2 separate regions of the Homo sapiens genome follow, and region 1 is linked to region 2. Evidence: promoter capture Hi-C in human tissues and cell types (Jung and others, 2019). All regions are on one chromosome and are shown on one strand. The core of a region is centred on a gene start or on the middle of the fragment in contact, and the rest is flanking DNA. Distances in the headings are between cores, read along the strand shown. Region 1 holds the start of ZNF559 (zinc finger protein 559). Region 2 has its middle 7.4 kb from the start of OR7E24.

Evidence for each region. Contacts are between HindIII fragments. The study calls those that stand out against the background at their distance.
Region 1: the fragment with the promoter of ZNF559 here is called in contact with a fragment that was not itself captured in region 2 in 6 of the 25 tissues and cell types used here (H1 embryonic stem cells, mesendoderm cells, pancreas and 3 more).

What each region holds. Positions count from the first base shown.
Region 1 is chr19:9,319,884-9,326,354 of GRCh38, forward strand. It overlaps ZNF559 (zinc finger protein 559), which reads left to right and starts at 4,296. Exons shown (of 7, transcript NM_032497.3): 1 at 4,296-4,345; 2 at 4,812-4,897. It overlaps ZNF559-ZNF177 (ZNF559-ZNF177 readthrough), which reads left to right and starts at 4,296. Exons shown (of 13, transcript NM_001384659.1): 1 at 4,296-4,345; 2 at 4,812-4,897. RefSeq lists an enhancer at 4,140-4,389 and a silencer at 4,560-4,699. The HindIII fragment of the contact is 8,356 bases long and covers 1,145-6,471 here.
Region 2 is chr19:9,240,743-9,246,264 of GRCh38, forward strand. It overlaps a transcript of OR7E24 not described here. Among named protein-coding and RNA genes, the nearest start is that of OR7E24, 7.4 kb to the right of the region's middle. The HindIII fragment of the contact is 9,125 bases long and covers 1-5,522 here.

The DNA.
Region 1 (6,471 bases), core at 3,046-5,545, 82 kb after region 2:
CATTGCACATGTATACATATGTAACAAACCTTCACGTTGTGCACATGTACCCTAAAACTTAAAGTATAATAAAAAAAAAAGTGTCCTTGCAAACCACACTGATAACAAGCCCTACTGGGTGATTGGCCTGCTCCATTTTCTGTCCTCTCTGAACCACCAAGGTTTGTTTGTCTGAGGGCCATGACTAAGTCTGCGGCCTTTCTCTTATCTCGCTTTTCCTTTTTGGCCTGTTCCTCTTGGTCCCTATTATAGAACACCAAGGTTGCCAGGTTTAATAATGCCTCCAAATTTTGTTCAGGGCCAGGGCTAGCTTTTGGAGCTTTCTCCTGATATCTGCGGCTGATTTGGTAATAAACTTATCTTTGAGGATCAATTGACCCTCGAGAGAGTCAGGTGACAGGAGAGTATATTTTCTTAAGGTCTCCCATAGTCACTCAAGGAAGGTGGTAGGATTTTCTTCCTTTCCCTGAGTTATGGTGGACTTCATTGAATGATTCATGGGCTTTTTTCTAATTCTCCATAGTCCTTCTAGAACACAGGTCAACAGATGTTTGCAACTCCAGTCCCCATGATCTGAGTCGAGGTCCCAGTGGGGATCCATACTGGGGATGGCTTGCTGACCCATAGGGAATTTGTCCCTTTCTTCAGCTGTCATTCTATCATTTACTTGACTAAGATACCAGGTATCTCCAAACTCTCAGGCTGCAGCTAAAGCCGCATTCTTTTCATTAAAGGCCAGTGTTTGATCTAACAATAGCATGACATCTCTCCAAGTGAGGTTGAAGGTTTGCCCTAGACCCTGTAGGACATCTATATACCTATAAGGATCATCTGAAAACTTCCCCAGGTCTACCTTGATCTGCTTTAAATCAGAGAGGGAGAAGGGGACATGTACCCGGGTTGGGCCAAATTCCCCTCTCCCTACAGCTTGAAGGGGACAAAACCGATAGCCGGCGGGGGGGGGGTGGGGGCTGTGGTACCTTGGAGATTTCTTTGCTTGTTTCTTTCTGGGTGGGGGAGATTAGAGGAGGCTTATCAGTTTCCATTGGCTAGAACAGGACCTTCCATTCTGTATTTGTCCTGATTGGCTAGCAACTTAGGACTTTTTAAAAGAGGCAAAGGCAGAGGAGAACAAAGGATGGAGGAAGTAACTTGTGGGATGCTGAGAAAGGTAAAAACACCTTCAGATAAGGAAGAGGAACAGACTATGACCTAATGCTTGCTTGGACCAGTATAAGCATGCCAGGGCAAATATTTAGGCTAAATTGTGGGAGCTAAGAACATAAAGTACACTGATTTCTTTATTACAGCTAGCAGATATTTAAGAATGTTAGTGAGAGGTGACAGTGTGCTGGCAGTCCTCACAGCCCTCGCTCGCTCTCGGCGCCTCCTCTGCCTGGGCTCCCACTTTGGCGGCACTTAAGGAGCCCTTTAGCCCACCGCTGCACTGTGGGAGCCCCTTTCTGGGCTGGCCAAGGCTGGATCCGGCTCCCCCAGCTTCACGGAGGTGTGGAGGGAGAGGCACTAGCGGGAACCAGGCTGCGCACGGTGCTTGCGGGCCAGCTGGAGTTCCGGGTGGGCGTGGGCTTGGCAGGCCTGCACTCGGAGCAGCCAGCCGTCCCTGCCCCGGGCAATGAGGGTCTTAGCACCCGGGCCAATGGCTGCGGAGGGTGTGCTGGGTGCCCCAGCAGGGCCAGCCCACTGGCGCTGAGCTCGATTTCTTGCGAGGCCTTAGCTGCCTTCCCGTGGGGCAGGGCTCGGGACCCGCAGCCTGCCATGCCTGAGCCTTCCCCGCCACCACGCCCTCCTCCCCCCCGCCCTCCTCTCCCCCCCGCCCTCCTCCCCCCTGCCACCCTCCTCCCCCACTCCTCCTCCCCTCCTCCCCCCGCCCTCCTCCCCCCCACCCTCCTCCCCACCCCCCTCCCCACCCCCACCCTCCTCTCCCCCTGCCCTACCCCCCGCTCCTTCCCCCTCCTACCCCCTCCTCCCCCGCCTCCTCCTCCGTGGGCTCCTGTGCAGCCGGAGCCTCCCCGACAAGTGCCGCCCCCTGCTCCACGGCACCCAATCCCGTCGACCACCCAAGGGCTGAGGAGTGCGGGCGCATGGCGCGGGACTGGCAGGCAGCTCCACCTGCAGCCCCAGTGCAAGATCCACTGGGTGAAGCCAGCTGGGCTCCTGAGTCTAGTGGGAACTTGGAGAACCTTTATGTCTAGCTAAAGTATTGTAAATACACCAATTGGCACTCTGTATCTAGCTCAAGGTTTGTAAACACACCAATCAGCACCCTGTGTCTAGCTCAGGGTTTGTGAATGCACCAATCAACACTCTGTATCTAGCTACTCTGGTGGGGACTTGGAGAACCTTTGTGTCGACACTCTGTAGCTAGCTAATCTAGTGGGGATGTGGAGAACCTTTGTGTCTAGCTCAGGGATTGTAAAGGCACCAATCAGCGCCCTGTCAAAACAGACCACTTGACTCTACCAGTCAGCAGGATGTGGGTGGGGCCACATAAGAGAATAAAAGCAGGCTGCCCCAGCCAGCAGTGGTAACCCGCTTTGATCCCCTTCCACGCCGTGGAAGCTTTGTTGTTTCACTCTTTGCAATAACTCTTGCTACTGCTCACTCTTTGGGTCCACACTGCTTTTATGAGCTGTAACACTCACCGCGAAGGTCTGCAGCTTCACTCCTGAAGCCAGCGAGACCACGAGCCCACCGGGAGAAATGAACAACTCCAGACGCGCCGCTTTAAGAGCTCTAACACTCACCGCGAAGGTCTGCAGCTTCACTCCTGAGCCAGCAAGACCACGAACCCACCAGAAGGAAGAAACTCCGAGCACATCCGAACATCAGAAGGAACAAACTCCAGACGTGCCACCTTAAGATCTGTAACACTCACCACGAGGGTCCCCGGCTTCATTCTTGGAGTCGGTGAGACCAAGAACCCACCAATTCCGGACACATTAGTACAGGTCTTTGAATAAATTTTGCTTCTAACAGAAGTTACTATTTATTCCTAATTAGATGGGCAGGAAAGTCTTTGAAGAGGAACCTCTACTTTACTTTTTACTGTAGAGAGAGTAGTCTTTGATCTTGGGGAGATGGGGTTTTTCCTTTTGGTTTAGCTTCAGGAAGTTTGTGTTAATTGGCCTTAGGTGCCCTGCCCCCAGCCCCAGGTGTTTTTCCTTTGATTTAACTTTAGGAAATTATCACGAATTGGCCTTAGATTCCCCGACCCCAGATCTTGGTGTTTTCACTTTTAGGAAGTCCGCATGAATCTTATCTATGCTCTTAACTACGTCCTAATTTTTGTGTTTTTTGTCTTTTTTATAGGAATAGGGTTTTGCCATATTGCCCAGGCTGGTCTCGAACTCCTGAGCTCAAGTGGTCTGCCTGCCTCAGCCTCCCAAAGTGCTGGGATCACTGGCGTGAGCCATCAGGCCCAGCCTCTATGTGCTAATTTTTGAACAAATTCCAATAGGAGCATTCTAGTCTCTGAGTGTGAGATGACCAAAAATCAAGCCCTTGTGAGGCTGAATAGAGTCGGGAGGCAGGGAACTTAAGGCTGTTTCAGGCCGACTTCCTAGAACTAAATTGAAAGGAAAACCCTCACTTTCCTCGCCTAAATAACAAAAGGACCAGAGGCTACTCCCTTTGACCTTTTCTGCTGGCAGATAGGAAATTGGCTGTCTGCAACAAATCAGACTGATGGCCGGTTGAGTCTTCATTTGCATAGAAGTGTAACTTTGTAACGTCGTAACTTCACCCTAGCCTTTGATTGGTTGCTTTTTGCAACCAATCAGATGTTTGCACAGGAGTGTGACCTTTGTAACTTCAGACTCTGGTTGGCTGCTTTCTGCAACCAATCAGACTGAACGCGGGCTACCGCTTCATTTACAGGAGGTGAGCATGAAGTGGCCAATGGGAAAATTCTAGGAGGTATTGGGACTCATGAAGGTTCTGTTTCGGAGCCCTTGAGCTGCCGCTTGGCCAGTTCCCACACTGTGGAGTATGCTTTCGTTTTCAACAAATCCCAGCTCTTGTTCTTTTGTTGCTTCATTCTTTCTTTGCTTTGCTGGGCGTTTTGTCTAATTCTTTGTTCAAAACGCCAGTAACCTGGACAGCTTGCAGTCAAGACCCCCTACCGGTGACACTTGCGCTCTTCGGGGAGGTAAACAGCATTTCCTCTCAGCTCTGGGTTGGAAAAAGCCGCAGCAGCTGATGGGCCCGGGAACCCGAGGCCCCGCCCCCTAGGTGGTCCTAGCCTTTGCGCGTGCGCGGCGTGTCTGCGTGGGCGCATGCGCATAACGGCCGCCATCTTAACAGCGCGTTCCCGTTGGCGTCTGAGGTAAGTTTTTGTTTCTGGGCGGCGTTCGGTGGTGTCCCGGTGCAGCCACGCGAGAGTAGAAGGGTGGAAAGGGGAGGTGCCCAGTGAAATGGAGCCTGTCCCGTGCACTTTCGGGCATTTCGAGCATCTTGTGGGCTCTCCCAAGTCGCGGCCCCTCCTCTGAGAGCCACAGTCAGGTCTGTCCTCAGGGGTCGAGGCGGCTGCGCTGGGGCCTCGGCCCGGGAGGAGGCGGGGGGCACGGCCTTTCCATTTTCCCTGCTCCCCTCTGCAGAAGCCTCATAGGGCCCGGCGCGGCGGCTCACGCCTGTCATTCCCAGCGCTTTGGGCGGATTGGGTAGGAGGATTACTTGAGGCCAGGAGTTCAAGACCAGGCAGGGCAACATAGGGAGACCCCCCCCCCCAACCATCTCTAATGGAAAAAAAAAAAAAAGTCTCCACATCCAGCGTTGTGCCTTTTCTCTATAAGGAACAGCATCTCTGCCTTCCTGTTCACGGTGACCTTCGCTTGGTGTCCTCCTGGCCTCAGCAACCTGACAATTCTGTCGTGTCCCGGTGAGCACTTCATGCACTTGTTCTGGCTGTGGGTGTCGGGTCTTGAAGTTTAAGTTGTGTCGAGGTGGAAAGAAACCTTTTCAGGTGGTTGTTCGAGAGCACATGGATCTGATACCATCGAATGCATGAGTGGATGAATGCACATAACTGTAAAATTTACCACCAAGGAAAAACACAGGACTACTCAACTGTGGTTCCAGGCCATCACCTAGATCTCACTCTAGCGCCCTGTAGATTCCCCCAGAGGTTCAAAACGAGGGCATCCCCAGGAACACGGTGCGGGCTGATTTACTAGCAGGAGGGATTGAATTGATAATGAATGCGAAGATAACTTTTGACAGGTGGGTTTTCTACCAGTTACTCATTTGAAAGTCTTACTGAGGGCGGGGCAAGGTGGCTCACACCTGTAATCCCAGCGTTTTGGGAGGCTGAGGCTGGAGGATCGCTTGAGCCCAGGAATTTGATGCCAACCTGGAAAAAATAGGGCAAGCCTCTGTCTCTACTAAAAATAAAAAATTAGCTGGGCATGGTGGTGTCTGTGGTCCCATCCACTTTGGAGGCCGAGATGCGAGGATCACTTGAGCATGGGAGGTCGAGGCTGCTGTGAGCCATTATTGTGTCACTGCATTCCAGCTTAGGCAACAGAGTGAGACCCTGTTTCAAAAAGAAGAAAAAAAAACAAATACTGATCTAGAGAACATCTGTAGCTCGAGTAAAACAAATGTCTTTAGTCCAGGTGTGGTGGCTCACGCCTGTAATCCCAGCATGTTGGGAGGCTGAGGCTGGCGGATCACGAGGTCAGGAGTTTGAGACCAGCCTGGCCAACATAGTGAAACCCCGTCTTTACTCAAAATACAAAAAATTAGCCGGGCGTGGGCACCTGTAATCCCAGCTACTCAGGAGCCTGAGGCAGGAGAATCGCTTGAACCTGGGAGGCAGAGGTTGCAGTGAGCCAAGATTGCACCCTTGCATTCCAGCCTGGGCAACAGTGCGAGACTCCGTCTCCAAAAAAAAAAAAAAAAGTCTTTAACCCTTAACTACATTCACTAGTTGTTAAGATTTGTTTCATTTTTTTGTATATGTACTTTATCATGAGCCATTTAAATTGGAAGTGAATGAACTTTCCCCTTTTAAGCGTGTATCTCAAATACCTCCTGAAAGTGAAGACAAGCTTAAAACAAGACTTCATTGTCCATCCCCACCCCCAAATCAAATCAGATTTCCCCAGCTGTCCAAAAGTCACCATAGTCACCATTATAGTTGCCAGGTTGTTTGCATGTTTTTAGATCTGTTAAATCTGTTTTTTAACTAGACTATTCACCTGATTTTTTTTTTTTTTTTTTTTTTTTTTGAGACGGAGTCTGTCTGTCCCAGGCTGGAGTGCAGTGGTGTGATCTCAGCTCACTGCAACCTCTGCCTCCTGCGTTCAAGCGATTCTCCTGACTCAGCCTCCCAAGTAGCTGGAATTACAGGCGTGTGCCACCACGCCCGGCTAATTGTATTTTTAGTAGAGACAGGGTTTCACCGTGTTGGCCAGGCTGGTCTCGAACTCCTGACCTCGTGATCTGCCGGCC
Region 2 (5,522 bases), core at 258-2,757:
ATCAAGATATTCCTGTATGTTTTTTTCTAAGAGTTTTATGATTTTAGCTACATTATATTTAAGCTATTGACTTTTTATTTATTTATTTATTTTGAGACACAGTCTCTCTCTGTCACCCAGGCTGGAGTGCAGAGGTGTGATCTCGGCTCTCTGCAACCTCTGCCTCCCGGGTTCAAGTGATTCTCCTGCCTCAGCCTCCCAGGTAGCTGGGATTACAGGTGCCCGCCACCACGCCTGGCTAATTTTTGTATTTTTGATGGAGATGGGGTTTCACATGTTAGTCAGGCCGGTCTTGAACTCCTGACCTCAAGTGATCCACCCGCCTCGGCCACCCAAATGCTGGGATTACAGGCATGAGCCATTGCGCCAGGCCTGTTGATCTGTTTTTTATTTGATTTGATTTTTGTACATGGCAGAAAGTAGGGTTCAATCTACTTTCCTTTGCATCGAGTTTGTTCTTGGAAGGGTTTAGTTTGTTGTGCTGTGAAACACCTTATTAATAACATCCACTTGGCAGCAGAATGTGTTAGCCTAGGGTTCAATCTGTCTAAGTGGTGGTTGTCAGAGAGATCATTGGGTTTATAAAAAGGTCACAAAGGCAAGATTATGTTTGACAGAGCCCTGCTCATGAACATTCAGTTCCTCAGCAGACCAGCCTCTTGTCCATGACAGATCAAGGTCTCAGAACTAAGTGGATGTTGTAGGTCCATTAGGCAAATGTGAATTTAAATATCCCGGCTCGACCAGGCTTGGTGGCTCATGCTTGTAATCCCAGCACTTTGGGGGCTGAGGTGGGTGGATCACTTGAGGTCACGAGTTCAAGACCAGCCTGGCCAATGTGGTGAAACCCCATCTCTGCTAAAAATGCAAAATTAGCTGGGTGTGGTGGTGGGTGCCTGTAATCTCAGCTACTTGGGAGACTGAGGCAGGAGAATTGCTTGAATCTGGGAGGTAGAGGTTGCAGTGAGCTGAGATTGCGCCATTGCATTCCAGCCTGGGCGACAGAGTGAGACTTTGTCTCAAAAACAACAACTACAAAACTAAAAGAAAACAAGAAATAAATATCCTGGCTCTTTTTCTCCTGAAAATCACATGCTTCATTTTTACTCTTCCCAAAACACTTGTGATTTGGCTTTTGCTACATGTTTTTACTTTAGGTTCTCTCAGTAACTCCCTTGGTAATTTCCTTCTAACTTTTCCGTTTTATATACAGTCTTTAAAGTTCCATCTTTGGTCCATTTTCTTAGAGCCACTCTTGAGAGTTCTCACGTGTTGTTTGAAACACTTATCATATCGAGTGCTGATATGATGACATGCTTTCCTCAAAAATTACCCATTTGCATGTTAGCACCCTTCACCTAAACTTGGTTGTGTTCTTGTTTCCTCTGGAAGAAATTGGATGAAAATCATACAATAGTCAAGGCAACGTGTTTCCCTTTTAGGATTGTGCTTGTTGCTTTACATGTATGGCTTTATTTAATCCTGAAAACATTTCTTTCTTTTTGTTTTTGTTTTGTTTTGTTTTGAGACACAGTTTCACTCTGTCACCCAGGCTGGAGTGCCATGGCGCTATCTCAGCCCACGGCAACCACCTCCCGGGTTCAAGCAATTCTTGTGTCTCAGCCTCCCAAGTAGCTGGAATTATAAGTGTGCACCACCACACCTGGCTAATTTTTTTTGTATTTTTAGTAGAGATGGGGTTTTGCCATGTTGGCCAGGCTGATCTCAAACTCCTGACCTCAAGTGATCCACCTGCCTCGGCCTCCCAAAGTGCTGGGATTATAGGCATGAGCCACCACAGTTGGCCCTGAAAACATTTCTTTGACATGTCTTTTCTCATTCACCTTGTTCCACAAAGGAAGAAGCAGATAGAGGTGAACTATAACCTGGCAACTTGACGTTGAGACCACACTCCAACTTTGCTATCCTTTATTTCATAAGAACAGTGATGTGATTTTTCACATCAAATTAGGAATGTAGATTTGTAAGCTTGTTTGTTCTGATGATTCATAGTAATGAACTGCCTAGAATAACTGAGACGTTGCTTCCTTCTTTGTGATTATTCCTTTTCTTCCCTCCCTCCCTCCTTTTTTACTTTCTTCCTTTCCTCTTCTTTCTTCCCTCATTCCCTCCTCTTTCTTCCCTCATTCCCTCCTCTTTCTTCTCTCATTCCCTCCTTCCTTCTTGTCTTTCTTTCTTTCCTTCTTTATTTGACCTTTATTTCCCATAATTGCAGTTTTATGATCTAACCCCAGATTGTAGAACATGTAATAATTATACGATAGAAAAGATTTGTTCTCTCATATAGTTTAATTTTCTTCTGAGACTTTCTGGAGATGTCTTCAGGAATGGAAGCCACAGAATGTGGACTGTGTTTGGGATGCAGTTCACCCTTTTGATGAGAACTGGTAGAACTGGGTCTGCAGTGAAGGATGGGGTAGTAGATGGTGTCAGGGTTCATCCCACATCCCTAAGACCCTCCCGCCATCTCCACACACACCATCCTGTCTGCCAATGGTCAGCATCAGCTGAGGGATCCACTTTCCCCAATGCATGGTGGCAGAAAGGTAATGAATGCTTACAATTTTATGTTGCTCTGGCATTTTTTTTTTTTTTTTTGAGCCAGTGTCTCACAGTATTGTGCAGGCTGGAGTACAGTGGCTCACTGAAATCTTGAACTCCTGGGCTCAAGTGATCCTCCTCAGTCTCCCAAGTAGCTGGGACTACAGGCATGCATCATCACACCCAGTTAGGGGGTCTCTCTATGTGACTCAGGCTTGTCTTGAAATCCTGGCCTCAAACCAGGATTGGCCACCTTGGCTTCCTGAAGCACTGGGATTGTAGGTGTGAACCACTGCACCTGGCAGGCATCTATTTTGAATACAGGCTTAGCTTTCTGATGCTAGAGGCAGGGTTCCATTGCCTTTGACACAGTTTCCAATTCCACACCACCCTCAAATGGCTCAAGCTGGTGCAATTGTTGCTCCTTGCATCATCCTTTGAAAGTGCAAGTTGTAAAAGTTTATGGATTCACCTCAGAGGGTTTATCTGAGAAGTTGCCTCAAGCAGTTAGAAGATACAGCTTCCTGATGCAACTTCAGCTGCAGAGACCAGGGAAGGAGGGGAGGCCTTAGAGGCCTGAGACTTCTGCTGGCATCCTTCTCACCAGGCTGCCTCCTCCCGGGAGAGTCCCTCCTTCAGCCCCAGTCCCTGTGCAGGAGCCTGGTTTCTGGAAAAGGCCCCACAGCCTGGTGGACACAGACCCAATTCCAGTATCAGACCCATCAGTGACCACTGTGTTGGGATTCAACAGCCTCTCCAGACTGTGATTCTCACTGGCAAAATAAAAAATCTGTCTGTCTTTATTTGATCAGGAGTACTAAGGCTCCAATGAGACAGTGTATTTGAAAAACCTTGGGAATCCACTCTCCAAAGCCTAGCAGGTTTTGTTACTATTATCCAACTCAATGTACAATTCTAAGGTAAATTGAAAAAATGTATAAATCCATTAAAAAGAAAAGTTGAAGGTCTCACATTTCCTGGTTTCCAAATAAACTACAAAGATCCAGGAATTAAAACAGTGTGGTACTATAATACATAAAGACACATATACAGAAAAATGGAAGAGTAAAGAGAGCCCAGAAAGAAACTCTCACTTATATGGTCACATGATTTTCCACATGGGTGCCAAGAACATTCATTGGGAAAAAGACAGCCTTTTCAACAAACGGTGTAGGAAAAACTTGATTTCAAAATGCAGAAGAATGAAGGTGGGTTCTTACCTTACACCATATGCAAAAGTTAACACAAAATGGATCAAAGGCCTAAACCTAAATTCCAAACCTATAAAATTCTTAAAGAAAACATTGATCAATACCTTCATGACATTGGATTTGGTAATGATTTGATCAATACCTTCATGACACTGGATTTCTTAGTGATTTCTTGAATATGTCACCAAAAGCACAGACAACAATATATAGATAACTTGGACTACATCAAAATTAAAAAACCTTTGTAACTCAAAGGATATACTATCATCAGAGTCAAAAGTTAACCCAGGGAATAGGAAAATATATCTGTAAATCATATATATATGCTTAGAGGCTAACAACCAAACAATATTAAGAACTCCTACAACTCAGCAACCAAACAAATGCCCATTAAAAATGGGCAGAAGGCCAGGTGTGGTGGCTTACACCTATAATCCCAGCACTCTGGGAGGCCAAGGCGGGCAGATCACCTGAGGTCAGGAGTTCAAGACCAGCCTGGCCAACATGGTGAAACTCCGTTTCTAGTAAAAATACAAAAAAATACAAAAAAAATTAGCGGGCGGGTGGCCTGCACCTATAGTCCCAGCTACTCAGGAGGCTGAGTCACGAGAATCGCTTGAACCCGGGTGGTGAAGTTTGCAGTGAGCCAAGATCATGCCACTGCATTCCAGCCTGGGTGACAGAGCAAGACTCCGTCTCAATAAAGAAAAAAAAAAATTGGGCAGAGGACTTGAATAGACATTTCTCTAAAGAACATATGCAAATGGCCAATGAGCATACAAAATGATACCCAGCATCACTCATCAATAGGGGCATGCAAATAAAAATCACAATGAGATACCACCCAATAGGATGGCTATTAAGAACAAACAAGCAAAAAAACCTGTCGAGTTTTGGTGAAACTGTAGGGAAGGAGGAATGCTTACACAGGGCTATGGAAATGTAAAATGGTGCAGCAGTATGAAAATCCATATGATGGTTCCTCATAAAATGAAAAATAGAACTACCATAGGATGCTGCAAGTTCACTTCTGGGTGCATACTTAAAAGGATCGAAAACAGGGATTTGAACAGATATTTGTATAACCATGTGTGGAGGAAAAGTTAAATATTAAATTCGAACTCAATTGAACATGGACACAAACAATGGTCAGCAAGTCCTCGAATGGGTCGTGTGAGCCCCTTGAGGCGTTCATCCAGCGCTGTTTCGGAGAAATCTCTATTTCAATCTATTCCTATACATTAGTTATTGAAAAACAATAGACAATCACGAAAACGAGTTGACCTTTTTGCGTTCCTTGGGCCCAGTCGTGAAGGGCCCTCGTGACTGGGCCTCATGCCAAACAACTCATTACAAAAAGAGTTAGGGTCCCAGACTGCGCCAAAGCTTCAGGAGACCTCTCCTTGTCTGTGCACGGACTGGTGGCTGACTCTGGAGCCCAGACTGTTGCTGGTGAATCCTTCATAGTCTGGTGAGTGTGTATATATATATTTTTTTTTCGCTTCGGCGACTTCCCGTTGCAATTTGCTTATTATATCAATGTGCTTTTTTTTTTTTTTTTTTTTTTTTTTTTTTATGGAGTCTTGCTCTGTCTCCCAGGCTGGAGTGCAGTGGCGCGATCTCAGCTCACTGCAACCTCCGCCTCCCAGGTTCAAGCGATTCTTCCGCTTCAGTCTCCCAAGTAGCTGGGATTACAGGCACGGGCCACCACACCCTTCTAATTTTTGTATTTTTAGTAGAGACAGGGTT